Regions from separate parts of the Homo sapiens genome. Here all the other regions are linked to region 1. Evidence: promoter capture Hi-C in human tissues and cell types (Jung and others, 2019). All regions are on one chromosome and are shown on one strand. The core of a region is centred on a gene start or on the middle of the fragment in contact, and the rest is flanking DNA. Distances in the headings are between cores, read along the strand shown. Region 1 holds the start of NPAP1 (nuclear pore associated protein 1). Region 2 has its middle 84 kb from the start of PWRN4. Region 3 overlaps PWRN4 (Prader-Willi region non-protein coding RNA 4). Region 4 overlaps PWRN4 (Prader-Willi region non-protein coding RNA 4). Region 5 overlaps PWRN4 (Prader-Willi region non-protein coding RNA 4). Region 6 has its middle 59 kb from the start of PWRN2.

The links. The method cuts DNA at HindIII sites, captures the fragments that hold promoters and counts their contacts. A contact is called where the count stands out against the background at its distance.
Region 2: a contact is called between a fragment that was not itself captured here and the fragment with the promoter of NPAP1 in region 1, in 7 of the 25 tissues and cell types used here (H1 embryonic stem cells, dorsolateral prefrontal cortex, heart left ventricle and 4 more).
Region 3: a contact is called between a fragment that was not itself captured here and the fragment with the promoter of NPAP1 in region 1, in 2 of the 25 tissues and cell types used here (dorsolateral prefrontal cortex and mesendoderm cells).
Region 4: a fragment that was not itself captured here is called in contact with the fragment with the promoter of NPAP1 in region 1 in 1 of the 25 tissues and cell types used here (lymphoblastoid cells).
Region 5: a fragment that was not itself captured here is called in contact with the fragment with the promoter of NPAP1 in region 1 in 5 of the 25 tissues and cell types used here (adrenal gland, dorsolateral prefrontal cortex, mesenchymal stem cells and 2 more).
Region 6: a contact is called between a fragment that was not itself captured here and the fragment with the promoter of NPAP1 in region 1, in 3 of the 25 tissues and cell types used here (lymphoblastoid cells, mesenchymal stem cells and mesendoderm cells).

The regions. Positions count from the first base shown.
Region 1 is chr15:24,674,016-24,677,948 of GRCh38, forward strand. NPAP1 (nuclear pore associated protein 1) reads left to right here and starts at 1,760. Exons shown (of 1, transcript NM_018958.3): 1 at 1,760-3,933. The coding sequence starts at 1,853. The HindIII fragment of the contact is 8,790 bases long and covers 1-3,933 here.
Region 2 is chr15:23,888,985-23,892,917 of GRCh38, forward strand. No RefSeq gene overlaps it. Among named protein-coding and RNA genes, the nearest start is that of PWRN4, 84 kb to the right of the region's middle. The HindIII fragment of the contact is 6,351 bases long and covers 1-3,933 here.
Region 3 is chr15:23,988,825-23,992,757 of GRCh38, forward strand. The region is part of intron 3 of PWRN4 (Prader-Willi region non-protein coding RNA 4); the gene reads left to right. Among named protein-coding and RNA genes, the nearest start is that of PWRN4, 16 kb to the left of the region's middle. The HindIII fragment of the contact is 5,439 bases long and covers 1-3,933 here.
Region 4 is chr15:24,012,160-24,016,092 of GRCh38, forward strand. All of the region lies in intron 4 of PWRN4 (Prader-Willi region non-protein coding RNA 4), which reads left to right. Among named protein-coding and RNA genes, the nearest start is that of PWRN4, 39 kb to the left of the region's middle. The HindIII fragment of the contact is 7,333 bases long and covers 1-3,933 here.
Region 5 is chr15:24,075,656-24,079,588 of GRCh38, forward strand. All of the region lies in intron 4 of PWRN4 (Prader-Willi region non-protein coding RNA 4), which reads left to right. Among named protein-coding and RNA genes, the nearest start is that of PWRN2, 92 kb to the right of the region's middle. The HindIII fragment of the contact is 4,554 bases long and covers 1-3,933 here.
Region 6 is chr15:24,109,183-24,113,115 of GRCh38, forward strand. It overlaps a transcript of LOC105370733 not described here. Among named protein-coding and RNA genes, the nearest start is that of PWRN2, 59 kb to the right of the region's middle. The HindIII fragment of the contact is 6,456 bases long and covers 1-3,933 here.

The DNA of each region.
Region 1 (3,933 bases), core at 510-3,009:
TGAACCTTCCACATGTCCTATGTCTGGCACACAACATTAGCCCAAAGAGAGCAAAGCAGTCCAGTTAAATAAACCAAAGAAACAAGATTAAAACTAGATAAGGTCATGTGTAGGATTTTCCAAATCTTTCTTGTCATGCTGAAACTTCCAGCTCTTAAAACAGTAACACATATTTCCTTTGTCCTAAAAACCAATATTAAGTCTCCTTCCTTGGGCATAAGAATATGGATAGTTATACTTAGGTGACAGTAATGTGTGGTAAAGAGTGGGCCTTGCTGGCATGCGGACAATGACCAAATTGTATTGATCATATTTTAATCGAATACATTGCTCCACTACTGACTTGCAAATACATGATGAATTTGCTTTCTAACATATTCCAAGAAGGCCAGAGAACTGGCTTATCCATTTGGATTAATCCACTGGTGAATTTCTTTCGGGATAGGCCAAAATGGATCTGGACTATAATCTTTACATATTTAGATCCTTCAAACTAGACCAAAAAGGAAATCTGGGCTGCAAGGCTCAATTAGAAGAACAGTGTGGGATGCTGCTTTGCTGACTATTGGGGGTCGCTGCCCCATGTCTTCAGAGGAGACTGGAGCCCAGTGCCTGCCATGACCAACTTATGAGGTGAAGTAAGGGCTTCCCCCTAGGAACGCATGTGCTTAATACAGATGTGCTGTGTGCTAGGTACCCTAAGGACTACAGGAAATAATGAGAATACATGATGTGTCCATAACAAGGAGGCACACAGGCCACGGCACCAGCTCTGGAATCACACAGCCCAGGTTCGAAGCCTGGCTAGGCCACTGTCATATCAATGACCCAAGGAGCAAGCAGCCTAAGGCTTAAATGTTGTTGCTGTTGTTTGTTGTGGTTTTTTGTTTTTGTTTTTGTTTGAGACAAGAGTTTTGCTCTGTTCCCCCAGGCTGGAGTGCAGTGAGGTGATCTCAGCTCACTGCAACCTCCACCTCCCGCTTTCAAGCGATTCTCCTGCCTCAGCCTCCCTAGTAGCTGGGATTACAAGTGCGTGCCACCACGCTCAGTTAATTTTTGTATTTTTAGTAGAGATGGGGTTTCACCATGGTGGTCAGGCTGGTCTCGAACTCCTGACCTCAGGTGATCCACCCGCCTTGGCCTCCCAAAGTGCTGGGATTAAAGGCGTGAGCCACCGCGCCCAGCCTTAAATGTTGTTTAAAACAAATTTGTGAAAAGAAGTGAAGAGGCCCTGCCTGCCAGGAAGAGATGTGGTAGGGCGTAGCATCTAGTCAGGACAAGGCACCACGTCCCCTCCTCGGAAACCCTCACGGCCTGGCTGGTGACCCTGGCGCCACAGAGACGGCACACCTGGCTCCAGGCAGCACAGAGCACTGCCAAGGTCCTAGAGGAGGCTGGCAGGATATAGGTTGTCCTGTGCTTAACTTGAAGCAGATGTGCCCTCTGTGAACCGGGGAATGGGGACGGCCGACACAGGGCCACTGCGTGCAACAGCGCCGGGCCAGGGCTAAGGAACAGGCAGAGCCGGCGCCCAGGTGACAAGAGCTCTGGCGATGGGCCCGCAGGCCCCAGCAGTTCCCTCATAGAGGCCACGCGGTGCAACACCTGCCACCGGCAGCGGGGCTTCCGGGGGTCCTGGGGCAGCTGGGGCCGACGGGGCGTCGCCCTTTGCCCTCTGACCCCTGCCTTTTGCGCCCCCGCTGGCGCTCCCTGGTTCTGTGAGGAACCTCGCGGCGGCGTCGCAGGCGTAGAGCCAGTCAGTTTGTGCTTGGTCGCCAGAGGAGGCGGTGGCTGAGGAGAGTTGAGTCCACTGCTGACCCTGTTTTACGGTAGGAGGCACGGCTAGCTCTAAATGGGCAATTTACTTAGTAAATTTAGACCCGGGTGCCGCCGCCGGCCCCTGCCAGGGCCAGGGCGTGGCGCCCCCGCTCCCCTGTCCCGGGACGCCTCCCCGCCCGGTCGGGCTCACTCTGTACCCACCCCGCGCCCTTTCCGCGGCCTGTTCCGCCGGAACGCCCGTCGCAGGCCTTCAGCAGCCAGCATCTTCGTCGCCCCTAAGAGGCCGTGTCCTCTCCCTCGGGCTGCGGCCGCCCCTCTGGGGGTCCTGCCGGCTGTGGGTTGGGGGCTGGCCATCAGGAAGACACCCATGCTGCCTGCTCGGAACCCCCCGAGGTTTGGACACCCCAGTTCCGTAAGGATCCCTCCTCCCAGCCGCATGTTCACTCTCCTGCTGCCTTCACCACGTGAGCCGGCGGTCAAGGCCAGGAAGCCCATCCCAGCCACTCTCCTGGAGGAGACCGAGGTGTGGGCCCAAGAAGGGCCCAGAAGAGTGAAGAAGGATGAGGATCCGGTGCAGATCGAAGGGGAGGATGACGAGAAAAGGACCCCCCTTAGCAGCGGAGAAGCATCGTCCACATCCAGGTCCCAGGGCACCCAGGGAGACGTGGCCTCCTTCAGATGCAGCCCTGGGCCTCTGGAGGGAAATGTCTACCACAAGTTCTCAGAAAACAGCATGAGTGAGAAGGCCCAGGCGTCTCCAGCGAGCTCCTGCTTGGAAGGCCCTGCCATGCCCAGCACACACAGCCAGGCCGGATGTGCCCGGCATCTTGGAAAGCCTGATCCGGATGCAACAGCGCCCCCTGAGCCAGCCGTTGGCTGCTCCCTGCTGCAGCAGAAGTTGGCTGCGGAAGTGCTGAATGAAGAGCCACCGCCCAGCTCCCTAGGCTTGCCGATTCCGCTGATGTCCGGAAAGAGGATGCCTGATGAGAAGCCTTTCTGTATTCCTCCAAGGAGCGCTGCTCCTCCCAGAGCTGCCCGCAACAGGCCCTGCAAAAGGAAAATGTCGATTCCATTGCTGCTGCCGCTGCCCCCTTCACTGCCATTGCTGTGGGATCGAGGTGAGCTTCCCCCACCTGCTAAGCTCCCCTGCCTGTCTGTTGAGGGAGACCTACACACCTTGGAGAAGAGCCCTGAGTATAAAAGGAATAGCAGAATCTTGGAGGATAAAACAGAGACCATGACAAACAGCAGCATCACCCAGCCTGCCCCTTCTTTCTCCCAACCTGTGCAGACCACAGACTCCCTGCCCCTGACCACTTACACTTCCCAGGTCTCAGCTCCTTTGCCCATCCCTGACTTGGCTGACCTGGCTACTGGACCCCTCATCCTGCCTATCCCTCCACTTTCCACCACACCAAAAATGGATGAGAAAATAGCATTCACAATCCCTAACTCTCCTCTGGCTCTTCCTGCTGACCTTGTTCCCATTTTGGGTGATCAGTCTAATGAGAAAGGAGGCTCTTATAATTCAGTCGTAGGAGCAGCGCCTCTCACTTCTGACCCCCCAACACCTCCTAGCTCCACACCCTCCTTCAAGCCTCCCGTCACAAGGGAGTCCCCAATATCTATGTGTGTGGATTCCCCTCCTCCTCTTTCCTTCCTGACTCTTCTTCCAGTCCCTTCCACCGGGACCTCAGTTATCACCAGCAAGCCTATGAATTCCACGTCAGTCATTTCCACTGTCACAACAAACGCATCTGCCCACCTAACCTCACAGACTGCGGTAGACCCTGAAGTAGTTAATATGGATACTACTGCCCCATCTCAGGTTGTTATTTTCACATCTTCCCTAAGCTCCAGAGTGAGCTCTCTCCCAAATTCCCAAATACATTGCAGTGCAGAGCAGAGGCACCCGGGAAAGACATCAGTCTACACATCCCCACTTCCATTTATATTCCACAATACCACCCCAAGTTTTAACCAACTCTTTGGAAAAGAAGCCACCCCTCAGCCCAAATTTGAGGCTCCTGATGGGCAGCCGCAGAAAGCTTCTCTCCCCAGTGCCTGTGTTTTCCTGAGCCTTCCCATCATTCCTCCTCCAGACACCTCCACTTTAGTGAACAGTGCCTCTACAGCATCATCATCCAAACCTCC
Region 2 (3,933 bases), core at 587-3,086, 780 kb before region 1:
AACTCCTGACCTCAAGTTATCTGCCCGCCTCGGCCTCCCAAAGTGCTAGGATTACAGGCATGAGCCACCATGCCCAGCTATGATAGGCATTCTCTAAGAGAACGCTGAGTGAAAAAGAAGTTAGGTTTAGGTTTGGTTGTTAGGTTAAGTGAGACACACAGGAAATAACAGAACACATGAAAGCACAGGAACCGTTTATTACTTCCAGATAGAGAGAACAGGGCAGCATTCCCTTCCAGGGCAGCTGGAAGGGAAAATTCATCTGGGACGATTACAGGCAGCCAGCTGGAGGTGAGCAAGAGAGAGAAACAGGGAGTGACCAGAGGGCCAAAGCGTCTACTGGGGTTCAGCGCATGACTCATACAGGCTTCCATTGGGGAGTTCTAAGTGGTGGGTTTAGAGCAAGTAGGTAAGAGCTCTGGGGGGCACACTGTGACTGAGGGGGTCACTGAGGCATAACTGCATAGTAAATGTGGGTTGTGAGGGGTCAGCCAAGTGAGACAAGTGTTATACCTAGCTGTCCCACAGAGGCCATCACCAGGATGTGGTTGTGGAAGGTTGTGGAAGGGGTCTGGATAGACCCCACCAAGGAACAGGGAGAAGGTGAAAAACTAGCAACCTTGCCTTAGGTGATTAAACCCTGCTTTTTGAATAAGTTAAATCTCTATTCAAAATGGATGCCTGAGCAATATAAAGTTATAATAATTTACTATAGTACTTAAGAGTTCCAGTAATCTACTAATAACTCTAAAATCTCTAATCCCTCAGTAGAAGACAAATGGAGTTGGCCAATATATATTAAACTATATTTAAGAATGTTTTCTCGGCTGGGTGCGGTGGCTCATGCCTGTAATCCCAGCACTTTGTGAGTCCCAGGTGGGCGGATCAGGAGGTCAGGAGATGGAGACCATCCTGGCCAACATGGTGAAACCCCGTCTCTACTAAAATACAAAAAATTAGCTGGGTGTGATGGCGGGCACCTGTAGTCACAGCTACTTGGGAGGCTGAGGCAGGGGAATTGATTGAACCCAGGAGGCAGAGGTTGCAGTGAGCTGAGATCATGCCACTGCACTCCAGCCTGGCGACAGAGCAAGACTACATCTCAAAAAAAAAAAAAAGTTTCTCAATAATAGACCAAAATACAGCAGATAAACCCCATGATTTTACAGTGAGGAGGAAGGAGTCACAGAGAAAAAATAGTGTATTTCATTGAAGCCAGATTATACAACTCACATTTCTCAAATAGGGTTGTATCTCAAAAATGATAATGAAAACACCACTGTGAGGAGGCAGTCATGATGTGATTAGCCTCATGTGAACATGCACTTGGTCTAAAAACCTTCCATTGACACATTCCAGTGAGATCATCAACATCAAAAGTTGCAGAGGGGCTGTAAGTATTTTGGAAAGATAATCTCATGGAGACTGTCACGTGACCCTCATAACAAAAGTGGCATCATCACAGCTTCTGATAAGGACAAATGATGTTTGTATGGGACAAATCATGGAGAGGATGAATTAAAAACTATTTCAGAAAACTTTATCTTTTCATGGGAGATATTTCAGAATTCACTTTGTTAATGTATTCTGCTTATAGTTTCCATCTCATGTAATCACACGATTTATATAAGACAAATGTCTACATTTATATAGATTGAAAAGTTTTTTCAACAATTATAAGAAAAAATGTTAAGTGATAAGAATGATCTGTGGCATAATCGGTAAGTAGTTTTATTATTCCAGTGTCATATATAAAGTAATGATACATCATTCAATTGGTGCAAATGATACATATTGCAATTACTTAGAAAAAGCTGTCAGTATTATCAACTACTAATTTAGTAGTTAGTATATACCTTCTATTCATCACAGGCTTTGAGTATTATTAGTAATCCTCACAGCATGCCAAGATATAGGGATTACGATCACACTCATGTTTCAGTTCTGAAGCTGAGCCTAAAGATCCACAAGAAAGGAATGAAAGAAGCTTAGGCTTTATTCTGCCTATCTCTAGAGTCTTTGCTGACATCAACAATAGTAGCATACCTTTTTCCTCACATGAAACATACTTTCAGGTCTTACTTTAAGAAATATTGGCCGGGCATGGTGGCTCACGCCTGTAATCCCAGCACTTGGGGGACCAAGGCGGGCGGATCACTTAGGTCAGGAGTTCAAGACCAGCCTGGCCAACGTGGTGAAACCCCGTCTCTACTAAAAATACCAAAAGTAGCCAGGCATGGTGGTGCATGCCTGTAATCCCAGCTACTCAGGAGGCTGAGACAGGAGAATCACTTGAACATGGGAGGCAGATGTTGCAGCTAGCCGAGATTGTGCCACTGCACTTCAGCGAGACTCCATCTCAAAAAAAAAAAAAAAGAAAGAAAAGAAATATCACGGTAATAAAGTTATTTTCCTAAGTTAGGGTCTAACTACTGGAAATTGTTTTTGTATTTGAAGTTTGTGATCCACCTGGAATTGCTTTTTGTGTGTAACATGAGCTCAAAGGTCAGATTTTATTTCCCCTGTATGGATATTCCATTTCCTGGAACAGTATTGATAACTAGTCTTTTCCCAATTTTCTCCTTTATAAATTGCTTAGATATGCATATGTGTGTGTGTGTGTGTGTGTGTGTGTGTGTGTGTGTTTTAACTCTCTTATTTTTTTCATTGATTTATTTTTCTATCTCTGTGCACATACCACACTGTCTTGTTCTTAAGAAAGTTCATTTAACAGAAGAATTTTTCCCTCAAAGCCCATTTTCTTAAACACTGTGTTATGGTGTCATAAAGAAAAAGAAGAGTAAAACCTCCATGCCCTGTACCTACACTGATATTCCCAGTTGTACCGCAAATAAGGATATTTTAGAATTTTACAACACTACTAACTGTTGCTTATGTCTTTAACACCCTTGTGAATCTTAGGCAGTCCTCCCATGCCACTTCCAACTTTGTTTTTTTTTAGTACATTCTCGCTGAATTTCATTCAATCTCTCGCCTCCTCATTTCCCTTCCCTGCTTTCTGGAGCCTTAGGAACTTTCTACTCTGAGAGCAGCAGCCAGCAGGGAAGGAACATACACAGACACCTCTGCGTGTCTCCCTTGGAAGCACAGATGCTCCGATGGTTGGTCCTGCTCCTTCTCTGGACCACATCTGCCAAGGATGGGGCCACAGCCTGTGCATCTGAGCTCAGAGCCTGTTGTGGGATCTGCAGGAGCAAGACCAGTTGCCCCCTGCCTTCTCTCTGAGGTCGATTGGGCAATTCCATTATTTTGCATAAAGATCAAGTTTGTTCAACAATCATCTTGCTTGCTGACCCCAAACACATGCCCACTCAGGCCTTGCTTTGAAATATATGCTCTCGCTGTTTGTCTTGGCATGCACATATCTTCAACACTTATGTATATTTTAGGGGGGCATATATAAACATTATCTACAACTGAATTTGTATGTTTATATTGTATATTAATACCTTTCATATCTGTATTTAAAAATACATTCATAATAATGTTTCAAAAAATCTTTTTCAATTATTTTCATCTTTTCAAGCATCACTTTTTCCTAAGTTGAAAGGGAAGATCACTTTTATTAGGAAAGACAGATGGTGCACATTCTCTGTTAGTGTTTTCTAGAAACGCCTTCTGAGTGTGCAGAACCGACACTTTGCAAGTGTGAATATCATCATATTCTTTGCTTTTCTCCTTACCCAAAAGCTGTATGCATTGCCTGTCATACTTGATTCCTTGTACCACATTTTTGTAAATGTCTCCATAATATTATAGCTACTGGTACAGATGATCCATTATGTAGACATGTGTTCTTTCTTACTTTTCATTGAGTGAACGTTAAAATAGTTTTTAGTTAAAAAAACAAAACAAAAAAAAGCCACTCAGATAATGTGTACATACGTCTCCAGCCAGCACATATTTTTGTAA
Region 3 (3,933 bases), core at 462-2,961, 690 kb before region 1:
ACAACTTTTATTTTTAGTGAACTCAGTGTTAATTTTGTACCAAGTACAGAGCCTAGGACACAGGACAGAACTGTAGATAATATCGGACCCTTTCCAGCATAGTTACAGGGCATAGCTAACTCAACATGTCCCCCAGTCCTTATCTAGAAGCTAATGCCTCTAATGCAGGCAGATTAGGCAATTATAAAAAGTCTCAGAAGCAGTTTATAACCTTAAATCATTTGGCAAAGACAGTATCTGACCTGCCTAATTTAGACCAAATATTTAAATATTGAAGACATTTTAATTTTATTTTACCAATAATCTATAAAACTGTCTTTATTATTCACAGATTATTAGAGTCATGTGAACTAAAAGGCAATGTAGTTAATTTTCTTGTGATAAAATATTTAAGTGCATTATATAGACATGCCAATTCATTAGAGCTCTTTTAAATATTTTGGTAGTGAAATATTATACTTATGAAGCATATCAATAAACAGACATAGAGAAGCTGTGACTTCAATGTGTCCTTTCAGACTGGGTGCCTGACATGAATAAAAAATTCCAACCCTCCATATGTGGGAGAAAAAGGGACAGTACTCTCACATGGTTACAAAGTTAAGTTCTCAAGGACAAAAAATGAGAAAAGAGGAAAATGTCACTTTTTTTTTTTTTCAGGAACCTGCAAGAAAGTTTGTAACTAACCAGTGCGCAGGGCCAGCTCAAACACTGAGTTTTTAGGGGTCTTAGGCCTACGTTCTATTCTGTGGTACTCCTCTCTATGACAGATTGACAACCGAATGACAAAAAGTTTAGTCACATAGATCTGTTTTTCTTCTAATCAAAACTTGCAGAGGAGACAAACAGTGACTTTTACAATTCATTCCACTGGTTTTGCACAGGGAGAGGTTGGCTGGTAAGAAATTTTTACTTTTTTGCTAGCTTGCCAGTTTTCCAAGTTCCCTTTGCAGCTTCCAGGAGAATGGAGCAACTTTTGATGACCCTGTTTTCTGCACCATATCTGTGGGGGCCAAGCTGTGTTACAAAATTTTGCAAGATGCCACCCAGTGGGCCGCAATGGGAACCAAATTAACACTCCTCATGTTGGCCAGAGCAAAATGCATGTGACAAAATACAGATACTAATCACCCCACTCACCATCAAAGTATTGATTTGGCAAAGCTTTAACTTGTTGCCATTGGCCCCTGTCATCTTTGATCCACTCAAGATAGGGAGAGATGACCTCCAAAAAGTAGTTTCAATGGGTGCTCCCCAGGTAACATGGAAGGGTGGATGGTCACCCTCAGTTAGACCTATTCAGCTCCTGCTAGCAGTTCCTGTAACGCTCACTAAACCCGAATGATCAGACAAACTAGGAAAGCCTGCAGTAATTCCATCAACAATTTCTTCAGAGATCTCCTCCATACATGCAAACTCCCTCAATGAAATACAGAAAAACAGAAGGCCTTCCAAACCAAAATTTCTGATCAAATCCAAACCAGAAGAGTATTCCTCCAAACGTGTCCCCTATTCCCTTCCAACTGGAGAGAGAAATCTCCTCAAACCAAGACTCTTACTACAATTCAGGGAGATACAGGCAGACCCCATGATGGGGCCACAGTACCTTTGAGGCCAACAGAGCCTCTTCCTGCAATCTAGGGAGAGCTGGACAGTTCCCATGATAGAGCTGCAATGCCTCTAGAGGGGCCAACAGATCAGGAGAAGTGGAATACTCACCAAACCAGCTAACATTTTTCATTCCAGGAATTATTTCTCTATTCCAGTTAGATCCATACACTGTGGGTAAGTAGCACCCTGCTGGTAGATACAGTGCCAGAGACAGCCTTTATTTGAAGAGAACTAGGCAGAAAATTGGGCTGTTCTCCAGATCTGCCACTAGTGAGAGATTGGCAAACACAAGGGATATATCCCTATGAGCTCCTAAGTTTGTAATGGCCTCATGGGTTCATCTTGACTGATGCCCAGATGGAGCCAATTTATCAAGAGGGGAATTACTATAGAGAAAGGGTTTGATACTTGTAGAGCCAGGTAAACAAGAGACAAGATTTATATTATTACTCAAAGCAAGCTTCCAAAAAAATCTGAGGTTAGGATTTTTTTGTAGATAATTTGGAATGCAGGAGGCTGGAGAATGGGGAATTTAGATTATTTGGGTCAGAGATGAAATTATAGTAAGCAGATAGGAGGACAGATAGGCAACAGGAGGACATCTCCTCTTGCATTGTGTCAGTTCCTGTGTGGGGGCCACAAGTCCAGATGAGACAGGTTACTGTTTCGGGAAGCACCAGCTGATTCATCAGAATACAAGGTCCGAAAAATCCCTCAAACTACAATCTTAGGTTTTACTGTATTAATAGGTTATCTATAGGAGCCGCTGGGGAGGTTAATAGTCTTGTGGCCTCTGGCTTTATGACTCCTGAGTAATACTTTCTAATCTTGTGGTTATTTTCGTGTGTTTGCAGGAGTGGTCTAGTCCCCAAACAATGAGGGGATTTGTTTCAGGGAGGTTCTCTTGTCATCTTCGTTTCAAAGTTAAGCTAGCAACTAAATTCCTCCCAAAGTTAGTTTGGCCTTTTCCCAGGAATGAACAAAGGCAGCTTAGAGGTTAAAAGGCAAGATGGCGTCAACTTAGGTCATCTCTCTTTCACTGTCATAATTTTCTGTTACCATTTTTGCAAAGGCAATTTCAGGATAAGCATAATGTACACATTCCCTTTCTAAAAGAGAGAAATGGACAAAAAGTAACAGTCTTCAAGCAAATTTGAAATCGAGCAGGGCAACCATTACATCTTAAAGCTGGGGAATATTTTTTTGACTCTTTCTCTGACTCCTGAACACACTGGGGTAAAGGTTGGACTCACAGGCCCTCGGGTACTATCACTCCTATGGCTTTGCTTGGTACATTCTCCGTGGGTGCTTGTACAGGTTGCAGTCAGGTACATGAAGTTTTCCAGGGCAGACATTGCATGCTGTAGGTGACTACACATTTCTGGGGGGTCCCGGTAGTGGTACCACTTCCTCAACTTTGCTAAGCATTACCCACATGGAACTCTGCAGTGACCTCACTGCTGTGGCTTCACTTAGCATTGCCCTGGTGGGCACCCCTTGCAGTAGCTCTAACCCCACATTTGTGTTTGGCATCCCTCTATTTGGGACTCTCTTCAGTGGATCTGGCCCTGTGACAAGTGTCTTTTTGGACTTCCAGGCTTTCAGAGAAATCCTTTGAAATTTGTAGAAACTGCCAAGCCTCTACATATCTTCATTTCTGTAAGCCTACATGATTAGCACCACATGGACACCTCCAAGGTTTAGGGCTTGTACCTCCCAGAGCTCTGGGACATAAGCTCCACCTGGGTTTATGGTAAGCATCTGGAATGAGCAGAGCAACATCCTAACAATGTGCAGGGCAGTGGCCCAGGCTGTCCCCAGAAACCACCCTGTCCCCTTAGGCCTGTCGGCCTGCAATGGATGAGGCAGCCTAGAAAATGACTGAAATGGTTGTAGGGGCCTCTTTCCCGTTGTCTTGACTACTAACAGCTGGCTGTGCTTTAGCCATTGTAATTTCTGGCAAGCTATGGCTCTGCGACATCCTTGGATTTTTCTCCTGAAAATGCTCTTTCATTCTCTACCACATGGCTAGGCTGAAAATTTTTAGAATTTTTCTGTGTGTGTGTGTGTGTGTGTGTGTGTGTGTGTGTTTGTGTGTGTTTTCTCTAGCAGTTCACCTTAAGCAGTTAGAAGTAACCACACACACAGCTTAGAAGTAATATGAACACTTTGTGGCTTTAGAAATTTTTTCTGCCAGATTACCTAGTTCTTCAGTCAGTAGTCAGTGTCTTTACAAAGCCCTTGGCATGGACACAGTTCAGCAAAGTTATTTGCCAAATTTTTTTTCTTTTATTATTATACTTTAAGTTTTAGGGTACATGT
Region 4 (3,933 bases), core at 634-3,133, 660 kb before region 1:
CAAGAACAGCCTGGGAAACATATTCTTTCCCTGGGGTAGCTCCTGTTCTTTGGGTTCTGGGGGTAATAAGCTGTTGATTGAGGGGATAATTCTTAAGGCAAGTCTCACAAGCATTAATGACCTATTTGACTGTTGGTAGCACATTTTTACCTGAAAACAATCTCTGGGGCAATTGATAGGTTTTATTCTTACTTTGGTGGAAGGCCTGGTGAAGGTTTCCATTGGCCGGCAGCTGGTAGATGAACCTTGCCATCCTCTGATTGTAACCATCCTGAGGACTGAAACATGTATCCCTGAGAGGTGGCCCATTCTGTTTCCACAGAAGAATATTGAGGTTTTATCTTACAGAGCCTTCCCAGATCAGAGGGGCTTCAAGTGGATCAGAAAAACGTTTTTGATCCACTGTTTGGTCTGCCAGCATAGAACTGACAATAAAATACCCAAAACATGTCCTATAATCTCTGGGACTGGGTCACATTCACCTGTAGATCCATCCAACCATATTTAGACCCAACAAAATTTAGAGGTGGACTCAAATGCAATGATTTACCATCAGCCACAAAGAAATATAAGGAAATTAGTCATTTTACAATTGGTATATTATAGCTAGAAGTGATATGCCACTCATTTGAAATTCTAGCTTCAAATGAAATTAAGAGCACCTATTATGAGTACCTCCTAACCTGAAAGTCTCCTAAAGGAACACTCTCTCAGCATGGACAAACATGTAAGATACACTGGAAACACTCAAACTTTTGGCAGATAAATCAGCTGCCTATAAGGTAATATTTATTACAAACCTAATACAAATACTAAGAAATAAACCCTGGAAGGCACTAAAATTAAATTTATGTTCAATATAAAAGTCTCAAATTTTATTTAAAATTGGGCTGTATACCTTGGCAAAATAAACCAACATAGAGAAATTGGTAACCCATGTAAAGTAATTCACAATCTAAACAAAATGATTGGCAAGCAAGGACATAAAGGCCAAACTGGCAACAGGACCATCTAAGGCCACCATCCGGATACCAAAATAACGGGAAAGACACTCCTGAATTCCAAGACTAAACCCACCTCTTCAGAAACAGCAGTGAAAACAGAAATTTTACAAGACATTTTTTTCTTAAATCTTGGACCCCCCCAGGCTATAATACTTGAACTTGGGGATCACAGGACATATATACACTGGCTATAGAGATAGACAAATATACACATATGGACACATTTCTTTTAGACACCAGATGACAAATAAGCCTCCTTAGATACAGCGTACCACACTTTGATACAAACATCTCTATAAAGGACTGAGGAATATTAACTAGAGTCTCCCCAGTCTCTGCTTCTATATGCACTATAAATGTATTTCTTGCATGTTTTACTGTTCACCAAAATTAGAAAACATTACAGAAATGGATTGATTGCAAAGCTTTTAAACCTGAGGTGGCTTATTAAGAAACTAAAGGAATGAAAGTTCTCTGACCTAACACAAATTAAAATGAAACCTCTAACAGTGACTACACCCCACCAGGCTACATACACTAAACAGTACCCATTACAGGGAATACATGAAGAAATAAAAGCAAAGGATGTGGACTCCTCAAAGAAGATATTACTATAATGGGCATATTGAATAACTTTAATTGTCCAGTATGGCCTGTCCTGAAACCAAATGAGAGCTATAGATGAACTATTGATGATACCAATTTAAATAAAGTCTCACCTAAAATGCCAGAAACATTACCAGATGTAGAATTTATTATTACAATTTCTTACTATAATCAAAAAGACTATGTAACCATAGACTTGTTAGATAGTGTCTTTGTTTTACCAGTAAAGAAAACCAGGAATATACCAACTTTATTTACAAAGACAAAAAATACTAATTTAAAAGTTTAATGCAAGGCAATTAAACAGCCCACTGTATTTTTTTTTTTTTTTTTTTTGAGACGGAGTCTTGCTCTGTTGCCCAGGCTGGAGTGCAGTGGCGCAATCTCAGCTCACTGTAGGCTCCGCCTCCCAGGTTCACGCCATTCTCCTACCTCAGCCTCCCGAGTAGATGGGACTACAGGCGCCTGCCACCATGCCCGGCTAATTTTTTTTTTTTTTTTTTGTATTTTTAGTAGAGACAGGGTTTCACCGTGTTAGGATATCCGGTTTGGATCTCCTGACCTCGTGATCCGCCTGCCTCCCAAAGTGCTGGCATTACAGGTGTGAGCCACCGCGCCTGGCCAGCCCACTGTATTTTATCATCACTCATAGATGAATTAAAATACACATCATTAATAATATACATACATGACATTAAATGTTAACACAATGGCCAGATAAATGTTAAACAAGAAACATCCCAATTAATATTGCTTTTAAGATCACTGAGATAGACTATTCATATAGACAAACCACAGGCCCAGACACCAAATGCAAATTTTAAGGAGTACAACAGCCATTAGAAGGGAGAAAAGTAATGATGATAATGATAGATAAAAGCCCCTAAGGCATCAATTAACATGTAGGGCAAAGATTAGTAGGTTTATTTGGATATGGGAGACAGCATATGCCTATTTAAACATCATCCTAAAACCAATACATAAGACAACTAAGAATTTCCAAGTTCGTGTGGGGACAAAAACAAACATAAGCACTTGCAACACTGAAAGGCTACATTAACACATTTCACACTTTGCATCATCCATCTTCTGATTCACAACTTTGGTTGGAAATTCTGATGCGTGCTGAATGTGGAAAGGTCCATGGTCATTGTGGACAAAGAAATTAGATTCTAAATTCTTCCTGCCAGTGGGATTTTGTACAATAAAATTTTCACACTAACAACAAATTAAAAGCCCATTTGAAAAATGTACATGGCCTACATGTACTTAAGATACTGAGCTTTTGCCTGGCAACAACATCATTACAGTTAGATGCTATGTGGCTCTCCTTCACTGGATAAAACTGAGTCCTGAAGAATTGACAGGTATCCAAATTGATTAAAGCTGCTCACCTGAAAATGGTGCATCCAGGGTTGAAACACTGGCCTTAAGGGTCAACCAGGTCTCCTCACTGAGGAGATTGTCAAGACTGAAATAGACTTGCCAGAATGTATTCTGAGGACAGGGACAATCCATGTCAATCTCGGCAAATGGGGCCCTGTCTGGTCTAATGTCTTGCTCAACACCTGGTTTACAGACGGATGAGCCTCCGTGACCCAAAGCCAGATCCAATGGACAAAGCAGCACTCAGATCCCAGGACCACACAATCCTGAAGGAAGCAGATCAGTTACTCTCTGCACAGAGTGCAGGACTGATTGCAGATGTTCTAGCAGTCAGAGACTCAGTATTAGAAAAACAACATAAAATTTGCATTTTTACAGACTCATGGGCAGTTGCAAATGAAATAAACCTATGGTCACACAAATAGATACAAAATGATTTTAAAATTAATGGTAAAGATATATGGTCCAAGTTTTATTGGGAGGAAGTGAGTTATCAAACAGAATTAAGATACTTATCATACAACAGTACAACAAAAATATAATTCAGAGACCTTAAATTTTTATAATCAAGTAGATGCATTATCAGGGAATATAACCATTGCACACAAAACACACCCCAACTAAAGCAACACAGAAATCCAGACAACTCATGGGACACTTCAGTACCACCTCTACAATGCAGCAGAAAATTGGACAATAAATGGGAGATACCACAAGTACCCCTAATAATTATAGTAAAACAGGAAAGTGATTTTACAATTAAACAGACACCAGAAGCAGCTTACACTTCACAAACACACCTCTAAGTATATAATGAAAAAAAGAGACTTAGGCACATGATCACTGTACAGGTGGCGATCAGACAAATTAAAAGTGGCATGGCATCAAATTCAATACGGCATAGGTAATTGTGAACAATATAAAACCAATCTAGAAA
Region 5 (3,933 bases), core at 460-2,959, 600 kb before region 1:
AAGCTCCGTTCATGATAAGTGCCCTAGACAGGTGACCAATTTTTTATCTTTTATACCACATTTTCACTGTATCTTTTCTGTGTTGAGGTGTGTTTAGAATAACAGGTACGATTGTGTTACAATTGTGTGCAGTATTTAGTATAATAATATGTTATACAGATTTGTAGCTTAAGGGCAATAGGCTATATACTCTCCAGGTTTCTATGTGTACACTAGGATGTTCACATATGATGAAGCCACCTAACCCATTTCTCAGAACTCTCATTCATTGAGCAATGCATGACTGTACCTTTACCATAAATAACAAATGATGGCATGTTTTCTGCCTCCTCCTGTGATGTTATGTTTTGATTTAAAGCTTACTATACATCATATTTTATTTTAATAGGTGAGAAGAAAAATCAAACAGTTGAGGAACCAGGAAGCACATCCCATATGGATGAGGAGGCATTCTGCTGAATGGCATTTTAAATGTTGAAATTTTGATTTTTGAATTAGGAATGCCCATGCATATGTACATATATAGTGAGTTTAGAATTGGTAATGTTCCCATGAGAAAGAATTTTGCCAATTAAAGTGCAGTGCTTATGTACAAAACCTTTAAGACTCAGCATCTCCATTTATTTCCTGTTTCATAGGTCAGTCCCTCATTCCCCACTCCATTCAATGAAGTTATGTCTTATAGTTATTATATAGTTGTATTTAATTTTTGCCTGCATTTCCTCCTGGGATACCCCTACCTACTGAATAAGGTTTTTAATTTGCATACTTTTATGCTCATTCTTAGTAATAATGTAAGTTAGAATTTGAAAATCAGTGTTATGTATCCGCACTTACAGTATCATACAGAATAATTTTACTGCCCAAAACAAATCCTCTGTACTTAAGATTTACTGGCATTTCCTCTCCTGATGCCATTGTAACCACTAAACTTTACTGCTTTACTATCTCTACATGTTTGCCTTTCCCAGAATATGATGTCAGATTTATCACAAGATAAATAGCCACATGAATATAAGTTGAAAAGACTTTAAAAAGTAATTACATATCAATATGACTTCTAAGTTTGTGAAGTATATCTCTTAGTTGTTTTGAAATGCTTTTTTTTCCCCCTGAGACAGAGTCTCACTCTGTCTTCCAGGCTGGAGTGCAATGACACAATCTTGGCTCATTGCAACTTCCACCTCCCGGGTTCAAGCGATTCTCCTGCCTCAGCCTCCTGAGTAGCTGGGATTACAGGTGCGATTTGCATTTTTTTATGAGAAAAAGCATTGAGCATCTTTTGATGTGCGTATTGTACATGACAATCACTTCTTTAGAGAAATAACTATTCAAATAGTTTACCTTTTTTGATTGGGATATGTGCCTTTTGATTTTTGAGTTGTTAAGATGCTTTTATATATTCTGCATAGGAGAAGCTTAATTAGCTACATGGCTTGCAATGATTTTCTTCAATATTTTGTGAGTCTTTTTACTTAATGGTATACTTTGAGTCACAAAACTGTTTAATTCAGAAAAATTTTAATGTATCTATTTTTTCTTCAGTTTCTGGTGCGTGTGCATTCATATCATAGAAACCATTGTTTAACCTGAAGCTGCATGTATTCCTATGTGACTTTCTATGGGTTAAGCCTATTTATTTCTTGTATTTAAGTTAATCATAATTTGAGTCATTAATATACATGTATGTGTGTCAGATTAAATAGTTCAACTCATAGAGATCCCCTTGACCCAACAACACTTGATCAAAAAGTTTCCATATTGCATTAAATTGACATTCTTATAAAATCATGAGATCATAAAGTTGTAATTTTTAGACATTCAGCTTTATTCCATTGATCTATATACCTATCCTTTTTTATTGTTACTTTATTCCTTTTTAAAATTTTTTTTAGCCATTTGTTTCCTACATATACCTATTTTTATACTAGTGCTGTGTCGGGAATTGGTGGGTTCTTGGTTTCGCTGACTTCAAGAATGAAGCAGCAGACCCTCACGGTGAGTGTTACAGCTCTTAAAGGCAGCGCGGCCAGAGTTGTTCATTCCTCCTGGTGGGTTCGTGGTCTCGTTGGCTTCAGGAGTGAAGCTGCAGACCTTTGTGGTAAGTCTTAACAGCTCATAAAGGCAGCGTGGACCCAGAGTGAGCAGCGGCAAGATTCATTGCGAAGAACAAAGCTTCCACACCATGCAAGCGGACCCAAGTGGGTTGCCATTGCTGCTTTGGGCAGCCTGCTTTTATTCCCTTGACTCCACCCACATCCTGCTGATTGGTCCATTTTACAGACAGCTGATTGGCCCATTTTACAGAGAGCTGATTGGCCCATTGTACAGAGAGCTGATTGGTCCGTTTTCACAGGGTGTTGATTGGTGCGTTTACAAACCTTGAGCCAGACACAGAGTGCTGATTGGTGCATTTACAATCCTTTAGGTAGACACAGAAGTTTTCCAAGTCCCCAATAGATTAACTAGACACAGAGCACTGACTGGTGCCTTTACAAACCTTGAGCTAGACACAGAGCTAATTGGTGCATTTACAATCTTTTAGGTAGACACAAGTTCTCCAAGTCCCCACTAGATTAGCTAGACACAGAGCACTGATTGGTGCATTTACAAACCTTTAGCTAGACACAGAGTGCCGATTGGTGCATTTACAACCCTTTAGCTAGACATAAAAGTTCTCTAAGTCCCCACCCAACTCAGGAGCCCAGCTGGCTTTGCCTAGTGGATCCCACGCCTGGGGCCAAGGGCGGAGCTGCCCGCCAGTCCTGCACTGCACGCTCACACTCCTCAGCCCTTGGGTGGTCGATGGGACCGGATGTCATGGAGCAGGAGCCTTCACCCATCAGGGAGGCTTGGCGGGAGCCCACCAGTTGCGGGGCTCGGGCATGACAGGCTGCGGGTCCCGAGCCCTGCCCCGTGGGGAGGCAGCTGAGGCCTGGCAAGAATCCGAGCTCGATGTGGGCAGGCTGGCAGTGCTGGGGGACCTGGCGCACCCTCTGCAGCTGCTGGCCCAGATGCTAAGCACCTCACTGCCCAGGGCAGTGCCGTCGGCACTAGCTTGCTGCTGGGAGCGCGGAGCCTGCTGAGCCCCCGCCCACCCAGAACTCGCACTGGCCCGCCAGCACCATGCACAGCCCAGGTTCCCGCCTGTGGTTCTCCCTCCACACCTCCCCGCAAGCAGAGGGAGCCGGCTCCAGTGTCGGCCAGCCCAGAGAGGGGCTCCCACAGTGCAGCAGCGGCCTGAAGGGCTCCTCAAGTGCAGCCAGAGTGGACGCAGAGCCCCAGGCAGCACCCAGAGCAAGCGAGGGCTGCTAGCACATTGTCACCTCTCAGTACTACAAATCTTGATCATTTTTTTTTTCTTTCTCTTAATATATTGCATGGCACTAACTTTTTTTGTGTATTTAACCAAATTTGCATTTTCAAATACCTATTTAAAATTTCTATTTTGCTTCTCAATGGATTTCATGAATCATAGTTTATATAACAACTTCTCCACATAGAAAATAGGAATTCCAAAACCCCAGCAGAAGCTCTCATGTGTTTAATAGCTGGGAAGACACAGAGGTGGTCAATTTCTGTGAAAATGTTTCTAGGCACGTTTTCTCAATAACAGGCCAGAATACACAGATGTGCCACCCTTACTTAACAATGAGAAATGGGCATTAACAGAAATGCTGTGTTCCATTCATCTGAGAGTGCACATTTTCACATTTCACATACAGATGCAGCATTTTAAATTTGATAGTGTCAGAACACTGTTGGCCAGAAGGCAGTTTTAATGTCACTGTCCTCGTGTACACATACATGAAACTGGTCTAAGAATCTTCCTTTGATATCTTTGGATAATATCATCACTGTTGTAATTCACAGAAGTGTTTGGAGAGAGAATCTCACAAAGAGTAGTTCAGGACTCTCACAAGAAATGCAGAA
Region 6 (3,933 bases), core at 528-3,027, 560 kb before region 1:
TTATGTGGTTGGTTAGTTGTTTGCACTGTTGTTTGGCGTTTTATTTTTTCTGGCACTACTAGGTGCTTAAGCTAATTGTGTGGATTTCCTCACAAGCCTGATATTAAACATTTTTTTTTTCACAGAGACCTAGTTCTTTTTATGGGAAAATTGAATTAGAAATGGAGATCTGGGCTCTTGGCATATTCATTGCTCCTGGGGCATCTGTTGATTCGTGATCTTGTGTGCTGACAGAGCAAATACATCTATGTACACTGATTCACACACACACACACACACACACACACACAGAGACATACACACGCACACAAATATTTTATCATGTATCTGTATCTTTAAGTTAAACATGAATTCCTAATAATCCTCCAGCACCCCATGATCTAATCCAGTACCACGTGAATCACTGCACCTATTCCCGCTTACTTGTATGTAGCCTACCACACTAACAGTGATAAAGATGCTTCTGTTATTTAATCACATAATCTGAAAGACTTGTATAAGTGGTTTCAGAATTAGAAATGTATATGGCCATGAGAAATAACTTTACCAACTAAAGTTTTTAGGGATAAATCTTTACCCTTTAGACTCAGAGTATCCACTTACTTGCTACGTTCCTTGGGTCAGTTGCTTTTCCACCACTCCATTCAGTGAGGTTATTTCACTGATGTGTTATTTCATTCTATTATGTGTATAGCCCCATGCTATCTGCCACCTACTCTAGGAGGTTTTTAATTTGTATATTTTAAATTCATTTTTTGTATTATAAAGTTATTTAGGATTTCTAAAATATAATCATGCATTTATCATTACAGTATGATACCAGAATAATTTCACTGCCTAGAGCAAATCTGCTGTACCTCACCAATTTGACCTGCCTCTTTTCCAAGCTCCTAGTAAATACCAAACATTTTATTATCTGTATACTTTTTCACATTGCAGAGTGTCACACGACCAAAATCACACAAATATTTTGCCTTTTTAAATTTACTTTTTTTTGCAATATACCCTTTAGATTTGTGAAATGTATCTCATGGTTGTTTAGAGTTGCATGTTCCTAATGACAAAAGACTTAGACCTCATATGATGTGCTTACTAGACGTGACTATAGTATCTTTGGATACATGTCAGTTCAGATAGTTCACCAATTTGATTGTGATATTTGCCTTTTTGAGTTGTAAAATATTTTATATATTGTGGCTAATAGATTGTTTTCTGCTATGTGATTGTGAAGATTTTCTTCTATTCTTTGCATTATCTTTTTACTTTTAATTATGTACTTTGAGTCTCAGAAGATTTTACTTCTCACAAAGTTAAATATATTCATTTTTTATTTCCTTTTCTTGGGCTTTAAGTATCATATCTTAGAAATTATAGGAGTTATTGTTTAACCTAAGACCCAAATTATGTATTTCTATATTATCTTCTAAGGGTTTGGTCTATTTAGATCTTACATTTGGATATATGATTATTTTGAGCCAATTATGTATATGGTATGAGTGAGAAGTTCAACTTGCTTGTGGATATTCAATTGTCCTAGCAACATTTGTTACAAATATATTTTTCCATATTGAATTGGCTTGGCAACCTTATAAAATCATTTGACTATAAAGGTAAAGATTAATTTTTGGACATTGAATTCTACTATATTCCTTTGACCTGTATGTCCAAGTTTATACTATTATTGAGCCTTTAAATTAAATTATGATGATACTGAGTTTTTCATGGATGCCCTTTAAAATAAAGAAACTTTCCTTATAGGCTTAATTTGTTGTATACTGTTATCAAAAATGGATTTTGGATTTGTCAGGTGCCTTTCCTGCATCTTTTGAGATGATCATATGGCTTTTGTTTTTTATTTTATTCTTATAGGTCATGACACTAATTATTTTATATGTTGAACCAAATTTGCATTCCTGAGACAAATACCCTTGATGATGGTGTATAATTCTTTTTACATTTGCTGATTTGTATTGCTAGCATTTTATTGAAGACATTTACCCTTTATTTATAAAACATATTGGCCTTAATTTTTCTTTCATGAAATGTCTTGCTTTAGTTGTAATGTCAGTGTAAACTAACTAATAGTATACATCAGGAAGTGATATCTTCTCCACTTTTACAGTTGTTTAAATTTTTATGAAGAGTTTGTGATAGATTTTTATTAATTATTTTCAGGTTTGGAATAGTTCACCAGTGAAGTCATCTCAACCAGCACAGGGCCTTGACTCCTAACAACAATCACACGAACTTGGAAGAGGAGCCTTCCCCAGCTGAACCTTCACTTGAGACCTCATCCTTGGCCATCATCTACATCTGGATTCATGATACAGAGAAACCGTGAGTAAGAGCCACTTAGTGTGTGACAATTTGTTATTCAGCAATAAATAATACACCTGACAGTCAATGCAATGTGGTATCCTGGACAGAAAAATGACATTTTTTACTTAAAAGCCTAGTAAAATATGGAAAAAGCCTATACTTCAATAAATAGTTTTGTGCCAACTATTTTTTAGGGCTCATGGTTACATAATCTATTACGTTGCATGTAATTCAAAGATGTCTAAAGCTTTCTGTACTATCTGTGCATATTTCTGTGTATTTAAAATTATTTCAAAGAAAAAATGTTTTTGAAAAAAGTATTAAATGTGATATGAAAAAAATTCCAAAGCACAGACAGAATAGCTTCAGCTCAGGAGATGAAAGGGCATGTAGAGAGAGAATAGCAAAGCATCCTTCCATATTGATTTACCAACTTGAACACCGGTACACTTGCTTCAGGAAGATCCCCCCAAGTTCCAGAGACTCATCCTCTTTCATCTTCTTCATCATATTCCGCATTTTTCAGTCACCAGTTTTAGCATCTGGTGCTAACTACGTAACGATTTTTTGAAAGACAGATGCCTATTACTCACATGTCTCAAAAAGCCCCATTTTCAGATATAATTTAGCAGGACTCCAACAAACAGACCAGAATTTATTGAGAGCTTGCAGTGAGGAGTGTCTTAATTCGAACACGACTATGTTGACAACACATCCTCTTGTGAGTGAAGCATTCATACAGAATGAGTCGCTGAAACTCAATAACACATGTCTACTGTACAAGAAAGGTAACAATCAATATAATGATCTAAAATTATTCTGGGGACATAGGGGACATGTGTCCAAGATTTATGAGATGTGAGCAACCAAGAGAGCGTGAACACTGATATTTTATAAGTGCTCCAAATCAGTAGATGGGCATTTGATTTTCCAGTTAGGGCTGCAGTCAGGGTCTCTTGGCTTCAATACTGTACACGGAGAATTTCAATGACAGATCTTGGTTAAAATAACAACAGTAATAACCCCTCATCTATGATATTGCAGCCTGGCACCATTTAACTTAATTTTACTGCGTATAAATAGCAACCGTATACTCCACGCAAACTAGAATGGCAGTGGAATTGATGTAGTGAAGAAAGTGACAAATTATTTTCCAAATATAAAGCAAACTTCAGGTTTTATAGGGAAACAAATGGAGGTAAAAATATTTTTATCCTTATTTTTCTGATAATTCTGTTCTGCTCTTATAAATAGAAAGCTCCACTTTCATTATTTTATAATATAGTGAGTTTATCAGCCACATGTATGAAAATTGTAGAGTAAAAGTAGGTTTGTGTCGACTTGGTTGGTTCATTTGACTTACACGCATCATTTACTTTATCTCGAATGGTTATTTTTTAAGCCTTGGTTTTGGTACAACATGTAAAAGTGTCAGTCTTTGTGCAATATTAAATCTTCACTCAAATAACGTTTCTTTGTGCCTTTGCCTTTGTTTCTGCGTTGCTCCTGTACTTCTGTGAACCATATTTCAGTGAGTACTGATGACACTAGCAGTCCAGCCTGCATGGATGCTGACATGGATGCTGTCTCCCATTCTTACCACTGGATGTGAAG